Regions from separate parts of the Homo sapiens genome. Here all the other regions are linked to region 1. Evidence: promoter capture Hi-C in 16 types of primary human blood cells and fetal thymus (Javierre and others, 2016). All regions are on one chromosome and are shown on one strand. Each heading gives the region's core, a stretch centred on a gene start or on the middle of the fragment in contact. The rest is flanking DNA. Distances are from core to core; before and after follow the strand shown. Region 1 holds the start of NAPB (NSF attachment protein beta). Region 2 has its middle 2.2 kb from the start of SEC23B. Region 3 has its middle 3.7 kb from the start of SMIM26. Region 4 holds the start of NAA20 (N-alpha-acetyltransferase 20, NatB catalytic subunit). Region 5 overlaps CRNKL1 (crooked neck pre-mRNA splicing factor 1). Region 6 overlaps CFAP61 (cilia and flagella associated protein 61).

Evidence for each region. Contacts are between HindIII fragments. The CHiCAGO score rates a contact against its expected background, and 5 or more counts as called.
Region 2: a fragment that was not itself captured here is called in contact with the fragment with the promoter of NAPB in region 1 in 1 of 17 cell types (naive CD4 T cells); the score reaches 6.4 in naive CD4 T cells.
Region 3: a fragment that was not itself captured here is called in contact with the fragment with the promoter of NAPB in region 1 in 1 of 17 cell types (non-activated CD4 T cells); the score reaches 10.3 in non-activated CD4 T cells.
Region 4: the fragment with the promoter of NAA20 here is called in contact with the fragment with the promoter of NAPB in region 1 in 1 of 17 cell types (non-activated CD4 T cells); the score reaches 5.0 in non-activated CD4 T cells.
Region 5: a fragment that was not itself captured here is called in contact with the fragment with the promoter of NAPB in region 1 in 1 of 17 cell types (non-activated CD4 T cells); the score reaches 5.3 in non-activated CD4 T cells.
Region 6: a fragment that was not itself captured here is called in contact with the fragment with the promoter of NAPB in region 1 in 1 of 17 cell types (total CD4 T cells); the score reaches 6.7 in total CD4 T cells.

What each region holds. Positions count from the first base shown.
Region 1 is chr20:23,420,209-23,422,767 of GRCh38, forward strand. It overlaps NAPB (NSF attachment protein beta), which reads right to left and starts at 1,280. Exons shown (of 11, transcript NM_022080.3): 1 at 1,097-1,280. The coding sequence starts at 1,194. RefSeq lists silencers at 269-498, 1,129-1,218 and an enhancer at 1,469-1,658. The HindIII fragment of the contact is 2,788 bases long and covers 1-2,079 here.
Region 2 is chr20:18,504,500-18,507,058 of GRCh38, forward strand. It overlaps the pseudogene RPS19P1. Among named protein-coding and RNA genes, the nearest start is that of SEC23B, 2.2 kb to the right of the region's middle. The HindIII fragment of the contact is 2,905 bases long and covers 1-2,559 here.
Region 3 is chr20:18,569,830-18,572,388 of GRCh38, forward strand. No RefSeq gene overlaps it. Among named protein-coding and RNA genes, the nearest start is that of SMIM26, 3.7 kb to the left of the region's middle. The HindIII fragment of the contact is 2,280 bases long and covers 127-2,406 here.
Region 4 is chr20:20,016,071-20,018,629 of GRCh38, forward strand. It overlaps NAA20 (N-alpha-acetyltransferase 20, NatB catalytic subunit), which reads left to right and starts at 1,292. Exons shown (of 6, transcript NM_016100.5): 1 at 1,292-1,379. The coding sequence starts at 1,327. RefSeq lists enhancers at 799-978, 1,593-2,093, 2,555-2,559 and silencers at 1,299-1,368, 1,419-1,538. The HindIII fragment of the contact is 8,583 bases long and covers 1-2,559 here.
Region 5 is chr20:20,038,170-20,040,728 of GRCh38, forward strand. CRNKL1 (crooked neck pre-mRNA splicing factor 1) reads right to left here. Exons shown (of 14, transcript NM_001278628.2): 10 at 2,517-2,559; 11 at 1,440-1,679; 12 at 180-281. Among named protein-coding and RNA genes, the nearest start is that of CRNKL1, 13 kb to the right of the region's middle. The HindIII fragment of the contact is 595 bases long and covers 990-1,584 here.
Region 6 is chr20:20,060,191-20,062,749 of GRCh38, forward strand. All of the region lies in intron 2 of CFAP61 (cilia and flagella associated protein 61), which reads left to right. Among named protein-coding and RNA genes, the nearest start is that of CFAP61, 8.9 kb to the left of the region's middle. The HindIII fragment of the contact is 6,753 bases long and covers 1-2,559 here.

The DNA.
Region 1 (2,559 bases), core at 30-2,529:
GAGAGGTTGGAATTTAAAATCCTCCTTAGGAGAGCACGGAAGAATTACAGGAAATTAAAGGGATTCCCAAAGGACGCCTGACTTAAACAGCAGCAGCGTTACCGTTAATCAAACAGGAGGCTCTGGCTATCAATCAATCTCCGGAGAAGGAAAAATACTATGCTGAGAAAATATATTCGTTCATTAGTCAAGTATTTACTAAAGGTGTACTCGGCGCAAGGCCCCTGGAGAGAGGCCAACAAGCACACCAGCTCTGGATCCCTCGCCGGACCGCCCCCTCCCCGGCGGGGCCCACCTGCAGGCGGGACGCCCCCAGGTGCGCGTTCCAGGCGCCGGGGGCGGCCCCCGCACCCACCCCTCCGGCTCCACCCCGGCGCGCCTCACCCGGACCGGTCTCAGGAGCGATACGGGCTTCAGCGTGGCGAAATGCACCAATACGACTCGCTACGCACTGAGAAGGGGGCCCCACGCGCGCCCCGAGCTACCGCGCCCGCGGGCCTCAGGGAGCCGCTGACCTTCTAGGTCGTGGGACCCCCGCACCAACCCGGGCCAGGGCGAGGGGGGCGATCTGGGGTCTCCAGAGGGCGCGTGAGGCTGACAGCCCCCCCCCCAGAGTGTTCTAGGGGCTTCGTGGGGCGCTTGGGGAGCTCTGGGGGTCCTAGGGGTTCTCTGAAAGGCGCGTGGGGGCTGAGGGTCCCTGTGAGACTCTGGGGATTCTAAGGGGGCGTGTTAGGGGATCCGGAGAGCGTGTGGGGGCTGAGGAACCCTGGGGAGTTCTGCCGGCCCTAGGGGGTCTCTAAAGTGCGCGTGGGGGCTGAGAGCCCCTGGGAGGATGCGGGGTTTCCAGGGACCCTGGGGGGGCCTGTGGGGTCTCTGGAGGGCGCGTGCGGACTGAGGGCCCCTGGGCGTCCTGGGGGCTCCAGGGGGCGCTGGGGGACCCTACAGGATTTCTGGAGGGCGCCTGCAGGCTGAGGGCCCCTAGACGTGGTCTGAGGGCCCCAGAGGTTGCGTGGGGGACTCGGGGGGTCAGCCTGAAAGGAAGGGGGCCAAGTACGGAGACCCCCCCCCCCCAGGGCACGCACGGTCTGGCGCTCACCCAAACAGCCCTCGGAGGAAGGAGTGGGAGGCCTTGACTCGCTTCTCGGCCTCCGCCATCAGCTGTACTGCCTCACGCTCCTTCCCCGCGTTGTCCATGTCGCCCGCCGCGGCCGCCACAGCCCCCTCAGCCGGCTCGCTGTGCGCCCAGGCGCCTTAACCCTCCCTCTGGCGGCCGCAGGGACGCAGGCGCAGGCGCGACGCGCGAGGCCTTTCGGGAGCTGTAGTCCGGGTCCTGTCATGGCGGCGGGGATTCGCGAGCCGCCTACTACAGTTCCCAGGAGGCCCCGGGGCGGGGTGTGTGTGAGCCGAGCTTGCGCACCGCTAGCTCCCAGGACGTCGGCGCAGGGGGCGTGACCCCCCCAAAGGGGTCCTGGGCCAAGGTGAACTTTAATTTTGTATGTATGCAGAAATGGAAAAATGATCCGTGGCCTCTAGTAAAGATCACCTCCTCAGTAAGACTCGCATGGCAATGGGATGGATGAAGGAACAGGGGATAACAGATTGGATGGAACCCACACCCTTCATGCAAGTTCTGCAAAAGAGAATCTGGTGTAGCCACCAAAGCATCACATGCTTGATACCGCCCACCAAAAAACGAGCAACAGCTGGCAATAAGAGCCATTTTTATCTCCAAGAGCAAGACGTCCCCAATATAAGTTCAGTTATTTTTAAATCTCCCCAAACTGTAACTTTCTGTTGGTCCTCTCTTCCTTGGTTATAAATGAGTTGCATATATGCAATATATGCATAATCCACTCTTTTGTTGACTGAATTATATTCAATGGATGTGAACCATTGAACTCTTATCCTTTACATAATACTGGCCATAGTGGATGGATCTCCAGGGACAAAATGTTTGCCTGCCAGGAAGACTTCTAATCTCCTAGGAGAAGTATCCATAGATAGATGGGATCCTGTGCCAGAGACTTTCAGGCCTGTCCCAGAGGGAGTTATTTTTGAAGACAATGTCTAGACCATTCAAGCTTGGCAGTGCTAAGGCAGAGATGCTGAAACTAATAAGAAAATCACTGCCAAGTGAGATTTATGACAGTTTCAAACTGTTAATAAATACACTCTGGGCACTGGCATGCAAAATTTTAGAAAATGAAGACTGTCTGTAGAGGGCAAGGCAAGAGGGGCCAAACTCCTAGAAAGAAAGTTGACTAAAGCACATGTCACAGAGTTCATACATTTCAGGACTCCGTAGAGATAGAAAGAAATCTCAGCTCTTCGTGCAGTTTATTTACGATTACTACATGCATTATTCTAACTTTGAAAAGCTGAGCTGTGTGTTTTTGGAGAGAGAAGGAGGCGGGAAATTGGAGGTGACCGTAAATGCAGGGGAGACCAGAGAAAAACTGTAAAAAGTGAACATAAGCATTTGGAAAGCAGAGCAGTCTATGGGGGCTTAATGGAGTGAGGCTAAGTCAAAAGCTCCTAAGTAAATCAGTGTGTTGATTA
Region 2 (2,559 bases), core at 28-2,527, 4.9 Mb before region 1:
TACTGATTTTGGGTTTTGTTTCTGATTCGCCCACAGCTGGCGGATTTTTCCCCATGAATGGCGACACCAATTAGGAACTCGCGGGAAACCCCGTTGCTCCCTTTCCCCTGGCTGGCAGCGCGGAAGCCGCACGATGCCTGGAGTTCCTGTAAACCACGTGAACCAGCGGGACTTCGTCAGAGCTCTGGCAGCCTTTCTCAAAAAGTCCGGGAAGCTGAAAGTCCCCGAATGGGTGGACACCGTCAAGCTGGCCAAGCACAAAGAGCTTCCTCCCTACGTTGAGAACTGGTTCTACACACGAGCCGGTTCCACAGCGCGGCACCTGTACCTCCAGGGTGGCGCTGGGGTTGGCTCCATGACCAAGATCTATGGGGACGTCAGAGAAACGGCGTCATGCCCAGCCACTTCGGCCGAGGCTTCAAGAGTGTCCTCCGCCGGGTCCTCCAAGCCCTGGAGGGGCTGAAAATGGTGGAAAAGGACCAAGATGGGGGCCGCAAACTGACACCTCAGGGACAGAGAGATCTGGGCAGAATTGCCGGACAGGTGGCAGCTGCCAACAAGAAGCATTGGAACAAACCATGCTGGGTTAATACATTGCCTCATTCAGAAAAAAAAAAAAAAATTAGGAACTAGGTTTTACATTCTGAACATTTGGTGATCTCTTTAAGTGAATTAATAGTTTTTAGAGATCTATTCTCTTTTGGATAAGAGATGATGAAAAATCTGGTTTGTTAGTCTTTTTGTTTGTTTGCCTTTTTGTCTACTTATGAGTTCAAATCAGTTAAGACTTCCATGCCCATTGGGAAGGAGAACAGCTTTTTGTTATCTAGTCCACTGAATTTTTATGTTTCTGAATTTACTTTCGACCTGTGGCCAAAGTTGCAGAACCAAAGCTATATGCTATGTGTCTATGTGTCTTCCCGGCTGTAATCAACAAAGGCCTTCCCCTCTTGTTGTGGGAGTAAAAAAATCTTACTACCTTTGTAAAGTTTTAATAAGTTATATTATTTCATGTCTTAAAGGAGCTCTGTTATAATTCACTTATGGAAACAAACACATGTAAATCAATTATTTCTAAAATTCCAGAAAATAAGTAAATTAAACTTATGCATGCAAAATTTCTTAAAAATGCTGAAACCATCCTGACAGGGTTAACAAGATTACAAGCCAGCCTTTAGGCAGGTTAGTTAGGCACTGACCAGGGTGCATTGGTGCCCTTCAATTCACTTCCCTGCAGCTGCTAACTAACCAAAAGCCTTGCAGCACACTGATCACCTACTCCCTGATTGCTCCTATCCACAGAATCTCTGACACTAGCTCTTTGTACCCAGGAATTGCTTAAGGTATTTTTCAGATCCTGAATTCCCACAAAACAGCTGATGCCAAACTGTCTAGGGATCCCCACCAGGAAGGGCACAGTGGCTCACGCCTGTAATCTTAGCACTTTGGGAGGCCAAGGTGAGAGGATCGCCTGAAGCCCGGAGTTTGAGACTAGCCTGGGCAACAAAGTGAGACCCTGCTTTACAAAAAAAAAATTTTTTTAAATAAATAAATAAAGACCTCCACCAAGAAACAACACTGGAATGAAGTTTCTTCATCTCCCTGTCCCATGACTTCACCTCTCACTTCCTGACCAATCAGAAATCCCCACACTTTAGCCCATTGCCCCTCCAGACTTCTTAAAAATGCCATCTCTAATCTCTTGGGGAGGTGGATTTGAGGATTGCTCTTGTCTCCTCATTTGGCTGCCACTTGATTATGGAACTCTTTATCTGCTGCAACTCCTATTCTTTCTGTTACCGCACAATGGACAATCGAACCTGATGGTCCTATAACAATCTTTCTTACAGAAATTGCTAGTACAGAAAGAATCCAGGTTCAAATAATCAAGGCAAATCTTTGGCGAATAATATTAAGTTTTGGTTAAAAAAAATCCCAGCTATGTCTTTTCTCAGTGTTAAGTATTATACATGTGTACATTTTGAGTTTGTTTCCTTACCGAGAATAATTAATCTGAACTTCCTAAATTTATAAAAGTTTACTATTGATAAGCTAATATTAACATTACATTGTTTAAGATCCTGAAAAATGTGAATTTGTTCAACAAAACTGAATCATTCTCACATTTAACAGTAATTGTTTCTTTGTGCCTTAAACTATTAATAATTTCTATGATCTGTAGATAACTTAAAACTTAGTATTAAATTGAGCTAATTAATGGATACTTCTTGGATGCCTAGATATGTTCTTGCATAATTTTATGTTTACATCGTTTTGCTTATTTTTATATGCTACAGAGACTACAACTCTGAGTCACAGTAATGATGTGTTCATGTTTGCCACTTGTCAGCGTGTGTAAAAATGGTTGTGGTGGCTTTATACAGTTGTGTTCTATCGCGCCTTTTGCAGCAACATGGATGCATCTGGAGGCCATGATCCTAAAAGAATTAACGCAGAAGCAGAAAACCAAATACATGTTCTCACTTGAAAGTGGGAGCTAAGCATTGGGCACACATGGACACAAAGGTGACATTAATAGACGCTGGGGACTACTAGAGT
Region 3 (2,559 bases), core at 17-2,516, 4.9 Mb before region 1:
TCCCAAAGTGCTGGGATTACAGGTGTGAGCCACGGTCCCCGGCCTACTATCTGCATTTTCAAGAGGTGTTCCTCTGTATTTGCATGAGTGAAAGATTGCTGTGAAATTTCACATAGAGCTTCCATAAGCTTGATTTCCTGAAACTAGTTAATGTAGATTTATATTTCTTTCATGTTGCTATTAGGCACAGCTTTAGTGGTCGCTTTAAGGTTAGTTTCAGCAAATCTCCATATTCACTTTGGGATTCACAGTAGCCCTTTGGGTACTACTGCGTACTGGGTAAGTATGATATAAATTTGATTGTAACTTCTGAATTAAACAGACTGGACCTATTCTTTAGGACCAGTGCACATACCCCTCATTCCTTCAGCAAGTGTGGATTACCCACCAACTGTGGCCAGTGCTATTCTAATGCTGGGAATGCAGTCAGGACGACATGATTGATGCTGAACCAGTTTCCTCAGTGGTCTCTTGGTTGCAGGCAACAAACACAAGTGAGCTTAAATCAAAAGTGGGTGTTTATAAAAAACGTGTATTGGTAGCTCAGAATTAAAGCAGAGAGTATGGGCCAGGAGCGGTGGCTCACGCCTGTACTCCCTGCACTTTGGGAGGCCGAGGGGCGGATCACAAGGTCAAGAGATCGAGACCGTCTTGGCCAGCATGGTGAAACCCTGTCTCTATTAAAAATACAAAAATTAGCTGGGCATGGCACCGCGCACCTGTAGTCCCAGCTACTTGGGAGGCTGAGGCAGGAGAATCGCTTGAATCTGGGAGGCGGAGGTTGCAGTGAGCTGAGATCGCACCACTGCACTCCAGCCTGTTGACAGCGAGATTCCATCTCAAAAAAAAAAAAAAAAAGCAGTATGTTGTCTTCAGAAGGCCTGACACTGGGACCAGAATGCAGGCAGCCACTTGTTGAGCCTGCCTGGGCTCTTGGCCTTGCTTTTCTTATTGCACACCAGCTGCTTTTCTCACCTTTCTGGAGTAATACAAATATCCCAAGAAGATACTACCTCCCATGTGCAGTGCCAAAGTCTGACCAGCCTCTCCTCAACCTGGTCTTTGGCTTCCACCCTTGCGAGAGACTCAGTTCAGTTTTTATCAGATCCCTGCCTATGGATTATAGAGTACTGCCTCAGTTATGAATAAAGTGGCATTTGTTTCTCATTTAGGTAGTGTTTTCCTGTTCATAGCTGTTGGGACCCTGTGAGTAGAGATGTGATGTGTGGTAGGACAGGAATTGGGCATTTCAGGGTTCCTCTACAGTACTATGACCTTCAGACCCTCATCTTGATTTCTCATTGGTGTCAGTTCCACCATTATGGGTGGCCTGAGCAGTGCTGTGGTGCAGTCAGCCTTAGTGACAAGGATTCCAAAATCACAAGTAACAGCTCCAGATGCTGGTAGCAGAGACTCAGCTTCCCAAGGGATATCAGGTCAAGCATGGATTCGTGCCAATTGGCTGTGTATTCCAGTGGACCATCTTGGTTGGCATCAAACTGATGAATGAGAAGCAGTGTACGACAGTAGATGGGGAAGGTGAGAAGCAAGTGAATCAGAAGTATGGGAGAAATGGGAACAGTAGCATGAACGTTTTGGAAGACATTTCCTAACATGAGGGCTTCCAGAGAAACAAAGGGCAAGGGCTGAGGGGCTGTGGCACTTGGCAGGTGAGAGTTGTTAATAGAGCACACCGAGGATAAACAGCTGAACTTCTACTCTCACCTGGCAGTCTACCCAGGATTCATACACTTGTGGGGCTTAAGGGGACATTTGGGTTAGCTTTCCTTGGGACTTGGCTGGGTTTCTTTGCTAGATCTAATTTATTCTCTTATTTCAGCCCAGCGTTCTCCTGAACTCAAGATCCATGTCCATCTAGCATTGCCACTTGGATATCTAGCCACCTCAGCTTTGTCCATAACTTAAATTGCTGTCATCACCCACAAGGCTGCTCTTCCTTCCGTTCTCTTTCTCAGAGAGTACTCAGTTCCTCAAATTAGGAACCTATCATTCTAGACTTCTCCCTCTTCTTGTTCCTTCTCCTTCCTCCAGCCACCAGGTCCCATCATTTCTACTGCAAATATTCCACTCCATTCCCACCTTCCCATTCCCTTTACCACTACCTTACTTAAATCCTCCATCCTCTTTGCTTATGTAGCCTCAACTTCCTACTCTCTTTGTCTCTACTTGGAGTCCCCTCCAATTGGTTTCTACAGTATTAGCCAGCATGACTTTTTTGAAATTAATTTTTATATTTTTAACAAAGCAACAAATGCATTAAAAAATTAAATAATGATCAAAAGTTTGTAACCAAAAAAACAGTTCCTGCTTTATCCCTCCTTGCTTTCAACTATTAGGTTTTTTTTTTTTTTTTTTTGGTATTTACGTCCACATTTCTAAATAATAAGCTTTTACTAATATCTTTAATTTATCAATCATGTATGGGATTTATTAATGAGGATTTGATCCTCCTTTCCAACTGACTAACCAATAAAACTATTGCATATTTTTGATGAATCAATAATTAATATTTACCCTGTTTTAACTATGCAAACATAG
Region 4 (2,559 bases), core at 42-2,541, 3.4 Mb before region 1:
TGTCACCCAGGCTGGAGTGCAGTGGTGCAATCATGTCTCAGAGCAACCTCTACCTCCCGGGCTCAAATGATCCTCCCACCTCAGCCTCCCAAGTAGCTGGGATTACAGGTGTGAGCCACTGTGTCTGGTCTGAATAAAGGAATTTTTAACTTTTAATTTTAACTACTTTAAATTTAAAAACTGATGTTTGGTTCAGCGATTTGAAAACAGTATATTTGGAACCGCTTGGATATGAGAATCTGCTTTTTAACCATACATTGATGAAATCTAAATAGAGAACAAGCATTTCCGATGACAGCTGCTCTCTCAGATTGAAATGCACTGCAAATGTAAAATACACACCGGATTTCAAAGTCTTTGCAAAAAAGAATGTAACATATCACATTCCTTTTTTTATTGATTGATTACATGTTGAGTATTGATTGGTTACATGTTGAAATGATATTTCGGGTATAATAAAGTGGGGTCAGGGAAAAATATTTTTCCCAAATAGGAAAAATAAATGGGTAAAATAAAGCGTACTATCAAAATCAATTTTACATTTCGTTTTGCTTTTATTTATTTATTATTTATTTTTGAGACCAAGTCTAGCTCTGTCGCCCAGGCTGGAGTGCAGTGGCGAGATCTCGGCTCACTGCAACCTCCGCCTCCTGGGTTCAAGCGATTCTCCTGCCTCAGCCTCCAAGTAGCTGGGATTAGAGGCGCGTGCCACCACGCCCAGCTAATTTTTATTTCTTTCCTTTTTTTTTTTTTTTTAGTAGAGAGGGGGTTTCGCCATGTTGGCCAGGTTGGTCTCGAACTGCTGAACTCAAGTGATCTGCCCGCCTTGGCCTCCCAGTGTTGGGATTACAGGCGTGAGCCACCGCGCCCGGCCTTCTTTTTGTTTTTAAACGTGGTATTGACATTTTAAGATGACATCTGCAACTCGCAACACTGGGACAAGGGATTCTGGGTCATAAATTCTCCCATTCCTCATTTACTCTGCAGCACCGGGTGGCTGCGAACTCCGCTCTTCTGCTTGGGTTTCCGCATCACCAGCAGCTTCTTTCCTTCCCAGGTGTCGCCGCCTGCTTTCTGCAGCCGCTGCCTGGGAGGGGTTCCGAGGTTCTGGGCAGCCACAGCCCCGGAGGCCTTACAGGAGCGACCTGGCAATTCCCGCCGCCGGCCGCCAGAGGAAGCTGCTTTGCTGCTGTCGTTGCCCAGCAACTCGTAGCCCGGAAGCAGTACCCCGTCTCGCTCGGTTCCGCGGCGGCCACGCTCCGGGAGACTTCCGGCAGGGCGGGCGCGGGGTCTTGGCGAACGGTCTTCGGAAGCGGCGGCGGCGCGATGACCACGCTACGGGCCTTTACCTGCGACGACCTGTTCCGCTTCAACAACATGTGAGTGACACGCGCCTAGGGCCAGCCGCTCTTGGCCGGGCCTCGCTTCCCGGCCCCGCCAGCTCCGGCCCCAGCCGCGCCTTCCCGGCCGGACCCCAAGCCCGGACGGGGACCCGCGAGAACCACCCCCCGCCGGCCAACGTGGGCGCCTCCCTGGGGCCACAGGGTCCAGGGAGAGGTGGGCCTGGAGTCGACGCACGCCGGCCTTGGCGACCTTGGCCGAGGTGCTCAAACTTTGTCTCTGGACCCTGCGAGCTGGCAGGTTCTGGGGCAGCGCTCGGGCCTCCGCTCGTGGTCGCTGTCAGGAGGCGCTGGGGTGATGGGGCGAGCTGGAGACGCGGCCTGGAGCCCACGACCTGGGCTTCTCGCCCTGCCCTACTGCTTGCTGGTTCGTGGCCGGGCCGCGCCTCTTCTGGGCAGAGGGCACCGCCGACGGCCAGGCCGCAGAGGGGGCTTGCGAGGATCGGAAGCTGGTCAGCAGCTGTTGGGATGTGTACATCGTGAAGCCCACCTGGTGGCCGTGGTTAAATTGTATCCAAATGAAATGACACTGATCACTGCGTCCCCTGCAGCAGATGCTGTCTCAGTCATGGTTAGTGTTTGCAAGTTTAGTTACTGTAGCTGCGCACCCCGGTGTACACACCTTTCCTCTGTGAGGAGTCACGGCAGATCTTAGGGGAGGCTCGCTGTGCCCAGAGCCCTGGATGCAGTTTCTTTGGATTCGAGTTAAGGCCAGACCTCTGATTTGCAGGTACCAATTTTTTTTTTTTAAGAAAACATTTTATTATGAAGATTCCCACACATTTAGAAAAGTTGGAGGAATTTCACCATGTGCTTTTATAGACACTTTTCCTGGATTCTGCAGTTAACATTTTGCTACGCTGGTATCTCTCCTTCCTTCCCATCTATCAGTCCTGGATCCACTTTAAAAAAACAACAGGGCGGTATGTGAAAACTAAGGACAAAGTGGTTCCGATTCAAGTGTCAGGAAGATGGAAAGAACTATGGGATAAGATGGCTGGGAACATTTCAAAGAGGGGGTGAGCCTTGAAGATGGATAACACATTGGTAAGTGAGGAAGACGGAAGTTCCGGAGAAGGAGCGGGGCATGAAAATGGGGAAACTTGAAGTGCGGTCAGACAACTGGGATCAGTGCGAATCTAGTGGCTGGTTTCTGCCA
Region 5 (2,559 bases), core at 37-2,536, 3.4 Mb before region 1:
AACTTAACATTCCAAACATTCCAAAGTCCTCTGAGACTCACGTTTCTCTTGAAAAGCAAGGAAGTCATTAAAAAAAAAAAAAAAACAAAAACCCAAACACTTAAAATACAGAAATATATCATTTTCTTCTGGACTGCTGATTCAAGCAAAATGAAAGATCATCTACAAAGCAAGGATACCTTGACATGCTGCGTCCGTTGAAGCAACCGCCGGTAAAGGTTTCGTGTTCTTTCTGTTTCTTCCTGCTCAATTTCAAAATCAATATATGATTTCCAAAGCACCTAAGGAAGAAAAGTAAATGGGTCAGTCTTGACATTTACAAAGCAGCATGCCCCCATCCAAAGCACAGCTGAAGTATCACTCTAACCTACATCTAGGAACATAGGATTTTTACTGAACAACTAAAGAACACATGTGGATAAGATAAATAACATTGGTATCTATAAGCTGGCCAAAACTTGGCTAGAATTCCAGATTACAGAAAAAGGGCCTTGGATTCAGTCTTAGAGATTCTCTTTGGAAGTTTTTCAAATGCTTGACTTATCAAGAGCTGAGAAACTTGCCAAGCATCTCCCAGGTACTCCATATTCTAGCCACACGCAATTGAGCGTCCAGAGAGAAAACAGGCCCAGGTTAGCCAGTATGCATGTTCTTACCTCTACTGTACATTCCTTGTTATTATGAGAGTTCAGTGCAACAAGCATTCACTGAACAGGTGCGCACTGGCTCGGTGCAGCCTGGCAGGGAATAAGGATGAATAAACCGTGGCATGGACACCTGAAAGCTGGCAGTCTGGTGGAGGAGCCGAGGACAACTGATGAACTCAGTGATACCCAAAGCCCTGCCTTAATTAATGCAATCAGGGGGCCAAACCATTAAATGCAGGGTCATGTTAGTGCATGAGATTAACAAAACGGCTGGGTGAGTTCTACGACTCATGTGAGATTCAAATCTTTCCTAGCTGTGGTTTGGTGCTACCTTGTGGGTCAAGCTTAACTACTGAAGGCAGGCGAGGACTTTCAGGACAGTGACAACAGAAGTTGCAAGGACATCCTGGTTTAGAGAATACAGGGATGTGCAGTTCCTACCTCCATCCCCCTCGTTCTCCGGGTGGGCCAGCCTGCTGGCTTCTTCCTTGCCTGGCCTCTTCCCCAGCCCCTTTAGGCTTTCCTGCTGCAGAAGGGGCGTCACCCACCCCCATGATATCCCAGTTCATCCTGGGCATCATCCTGGATGTCTACTGCTCTGGTATCTAATGAGAGGGCTACTTCCCCTGTCCCCCACAGCCACCTTTCCACGTACAAGCCTAATCTGAGTAGAAGAGACTAAGTTAGTTAGATCATCGTTATACTCTAAAATACACCCACATTTAGATGGTCATCTAAAGTAAGACTAAACACGTATCTCAAACAAAATTATATTTGACTTGAGATGCTCACCTCTGGCATGTCTAAACGTGGCTGACTGATGGCTAATTCATAGATTGCCCGTGCTCTGTCAATATCACCAAGGATTGTCTCTAATTCAGCGAATTTAATCCATGAGGTACAATTTTCAGGTCCAAATTCCAGGAACTTTTCATAAAGCTTCCGGCATCTGTCAAATTCTCGAAGCTGTAGCTCCAATTCTATGTAAACTTTAAATAATTTGTTCTTTGGACATTTGCCTATGGAAGTTCCCTGGAAAATAAAATAACCAGACCACTGTGATACTGTAGTGGATTTAATCTGTGCAGTTATTGCACTGCCCTAGAGGCTGTTCTCTGCTGAGGAAGAATCTTGCAAAGTCAACATGGCCTACCATTCTTTCCCTCTGTGGTATCACAATGTTTACTGGTTCTTGACAAAAGGCTGAAGGAAACTCCTCTAATTCACTCAGCAAGAGGCAGTGTTCCAGAATTGTTTGGGCAACTAAATAAAATAAGATTTGAAAGTTTCTCAGGATCTCCTAGGGAATAGGGATGTCAAATGCATAAAACCTCCTATAAATAAAAAGGACAAGGCATGGTGGCTCATGCCTGTAATCCCAGCATTCTGAGAGGCCAACATGGGAGGATCATTTCCGCCCAGGAGGCAGAGGTTGCAGTGAGCCAAGATCGCGCTACTGCATTCCAGCTTGGGGAACAGAGCGAGACCCTGTCTCAAAAAAAAACCAAACAAACAAAAAAAAAAAAAAGAAAAAAAAAGTGGAACAATTAAAAGTGCATTTAACACACCAAAAAGTTTGCACAGGATCAGATTACTAATTCCAGTCTGTGGAAAGATTTAGTAACTGGTAGCTATAGAAGTTTCCAATATTGAAACAGAATGTTAATTTGCCCCAGGTAATAAGAATAATTTACGCATTATTAGTCAGTGTTTTTACAGAGGACGCATGTTTTCTAACATGTCCCAGGCTATAAAGGTATAATACTTCTGTCACTCTTTAAAGTAGGAACTGTACAACTTCCAAGCACCAAGATTTTAATTTCTTTCTCATAGAACTTGATGAGACATCTTGATCCTTTCTTTACTTACCAATGCTCTTCTGGCTAATGACAGATTCTTCTGTCGTATTTCA
Region 6 (2,559 bases), core at 22-2,521, 3.4 Mb before region 1:
ATAACATCAATTTAGAATTGTGACATTGTTTCACCCAGTGAAACAATTCCTAGGGGACCTGGGAGAAAATAAATGCATTTTCTGACAAACAAAAACCTAAGTCATTTGCCAATAAACTCTGAATGGAGGAAATTCCTCAGAATATGTTTTTGGAGGAACAGAGAATACCTCAGCTGGAAAGCTCAAAACACAAGAAGGAATGTCAACAAAAATATGGAAAATATATAGGTAAATCTAAGAAAAAGTATGACTTGCATAAAACAATAATATTGATAATGACTGATTTGTGAGGTATAAACCATATGTTAAAACTAAGATTCAGGACAAAAACATTATATAAATTGGGAGGAGCATGATTAGAATGAAAGAATCCTTCAGGTTTTATTTAAGATGGAGGGTGTGGTAAGTGGTGTGCAAACAGGCTCCCCTGGCTCCAATGAGCCACACATCCTGTCACTTACGCCTTTGTGTAGTCTGTTCTCACAAAGAATCATGGCTCGCCTTATGCAGCCAATGGAAAGCAGCAGAAGTGAGACTCTATTTGACTTCAAGTCTAAGTCATAAGAAGTCTTGCAACTTCCACTGGGTCTCCGGAAGTGCTCCTTCTCAGAACCCAGTGCCACACTGATGAAAGCTCCAGTCACATGTTTCCCTGTGGGTGCTTCATTTGACAGCCTCTGCTGAGCTCCCCGCTAGCAACTGCCACCAGCTGCCAACCATGCAAGTAAGCCGTCTTAGACACTGAGTCTTCAGATGGCTTTAGCCACTGCTGCCATTTGATAGCCTGAGATACCGTGCAAAAACTGCTTAGTTCAACCCAGGCAGCCCACAGAACCATGAGAGATAATAATTGCTACTTAAAGCCACTGAGGTTTGGGGTGGTTTATTACACATCAGTTGATAACTGGAACAGATAATAAAGACTGTTAGGAATATATATTAACATGGTTAAGATCATCATTAAAAGAACAGGTGTAGAGATGATAACTTCTGATCTATAGAGGGAAAAATGGAATGAGAAATTTAAAATGAACCCTGAATCTAAAAGAGGACAAGACAGGAGGAGGAAAAAAGAAACAAAAAGCATAGAATGTATTAAAATTACAGAATAAGAAAATAAATTTTACTATATCAGCAATCATAATAAATGCATCTGGACAAAAATCTTCCATTAAAAGATTAAGAATGGCAGATTGGCTCAAAACAAAACAGTCATATTCTATTTGTGAGACATACCTCATATATAAAGTCACAGAAATATTTAAAGTCAAAGTATCAGGAAAAAAGATATGCCACCCAAAATCTCACCCAAAATAAGGGCTAGTATTGCTATATCAACAGCAGACAGTGTATAGTTCAGGACAAAAAGCTCCCTACAGATAAAGAGGGTCACTATATAATGATAAAACTGTTGTTGGGAGAGCTATGACAGCTTTAAACTTATATGCTTCTAACAACACAGTTCTAAAATAGATAAAAGTGAAAATCACAGGTAGAGCACTGGAGACTCTCCCGCCTCCCTGTGTTCCCCATGCCTTTTTGTGCCATTCTCCCTGCTGTAGTCCCCATGTTTTCTATCTTTGTTGAGCCTGTGATTCCCCTGACAGAATGTAATGGAAGTGGGGCTGTCCTGGTCCCAGGCCCAAGCGTTAAGATGGCCTGGCAGCAGGGCTGGCCCAGGAGAGGCACGCAGGGTATCCTGGGTACTCACTCCCAGCTAGGGCCCCTGCATGAACCTGAGAGTGAACACCTCCTTCCATTTTTGAACCCTGGGTCCCTCTGGCCTCACCCTAGTTCGAGCCTTTGCTGGGAGCTTTCAGTTTTGTGATCTTGGGAGCCTTGCACTACCATGTAAAAAGTCTGGCTACTCTACTGGACATACCACCCAGAGAGGCCATATCGTAAGAGAGAAGTGTGTGCCTACATGGAGGAGAATTGAGGAGCCCAGCCTCCAGCAAGAAGGAAGGCCCCATGTCACTCTTCCAGGCACACCCCAGCCCCTTTGGGCCACCCTCACTGAGGCACAAGACACATGAGGGAAAAAAACCGTCTTGGAGGTTCTTGCCCCAACAGATACCCCTACTGTACCCTGTCTGAATCTCTCACCCATAGAATCATGAGCAAATAAAACAGAGTAGCCACTAAATTTGGGATAATCTGTTATGCAGAAATAGTTGAACAAAATAGCAGGTCTTAGAGGGAACTTATAACCTTAAATGCTTATAACAGAAGAGAAGAAAGGCCTGAAATAAAGTTCAGAGTTTACCTCTAAGAGCAAGAACAGTCGAATCAACTCAAGGAAAACAGAAAATAAAGGACAAGAGCGCATATTAATGAAACAGGAAACAAGCATCTGGTAGAGGATAAACAAAGCCAAAAGTTTGTTCTTTAAAAAGCCTAAAGAAAAAAAAAATCTGACAAGATTAATCAGGAAAAAAAGAAAAACTTTCAAAGTAATGTGAAAAGGACATAATCACAAATGTTGCTGAGGTTAAGCAGGTAATAAAAGGGCATTATAGATCCACAATCCTTTAACTAAATCCCTCGTGACTAGTTGTG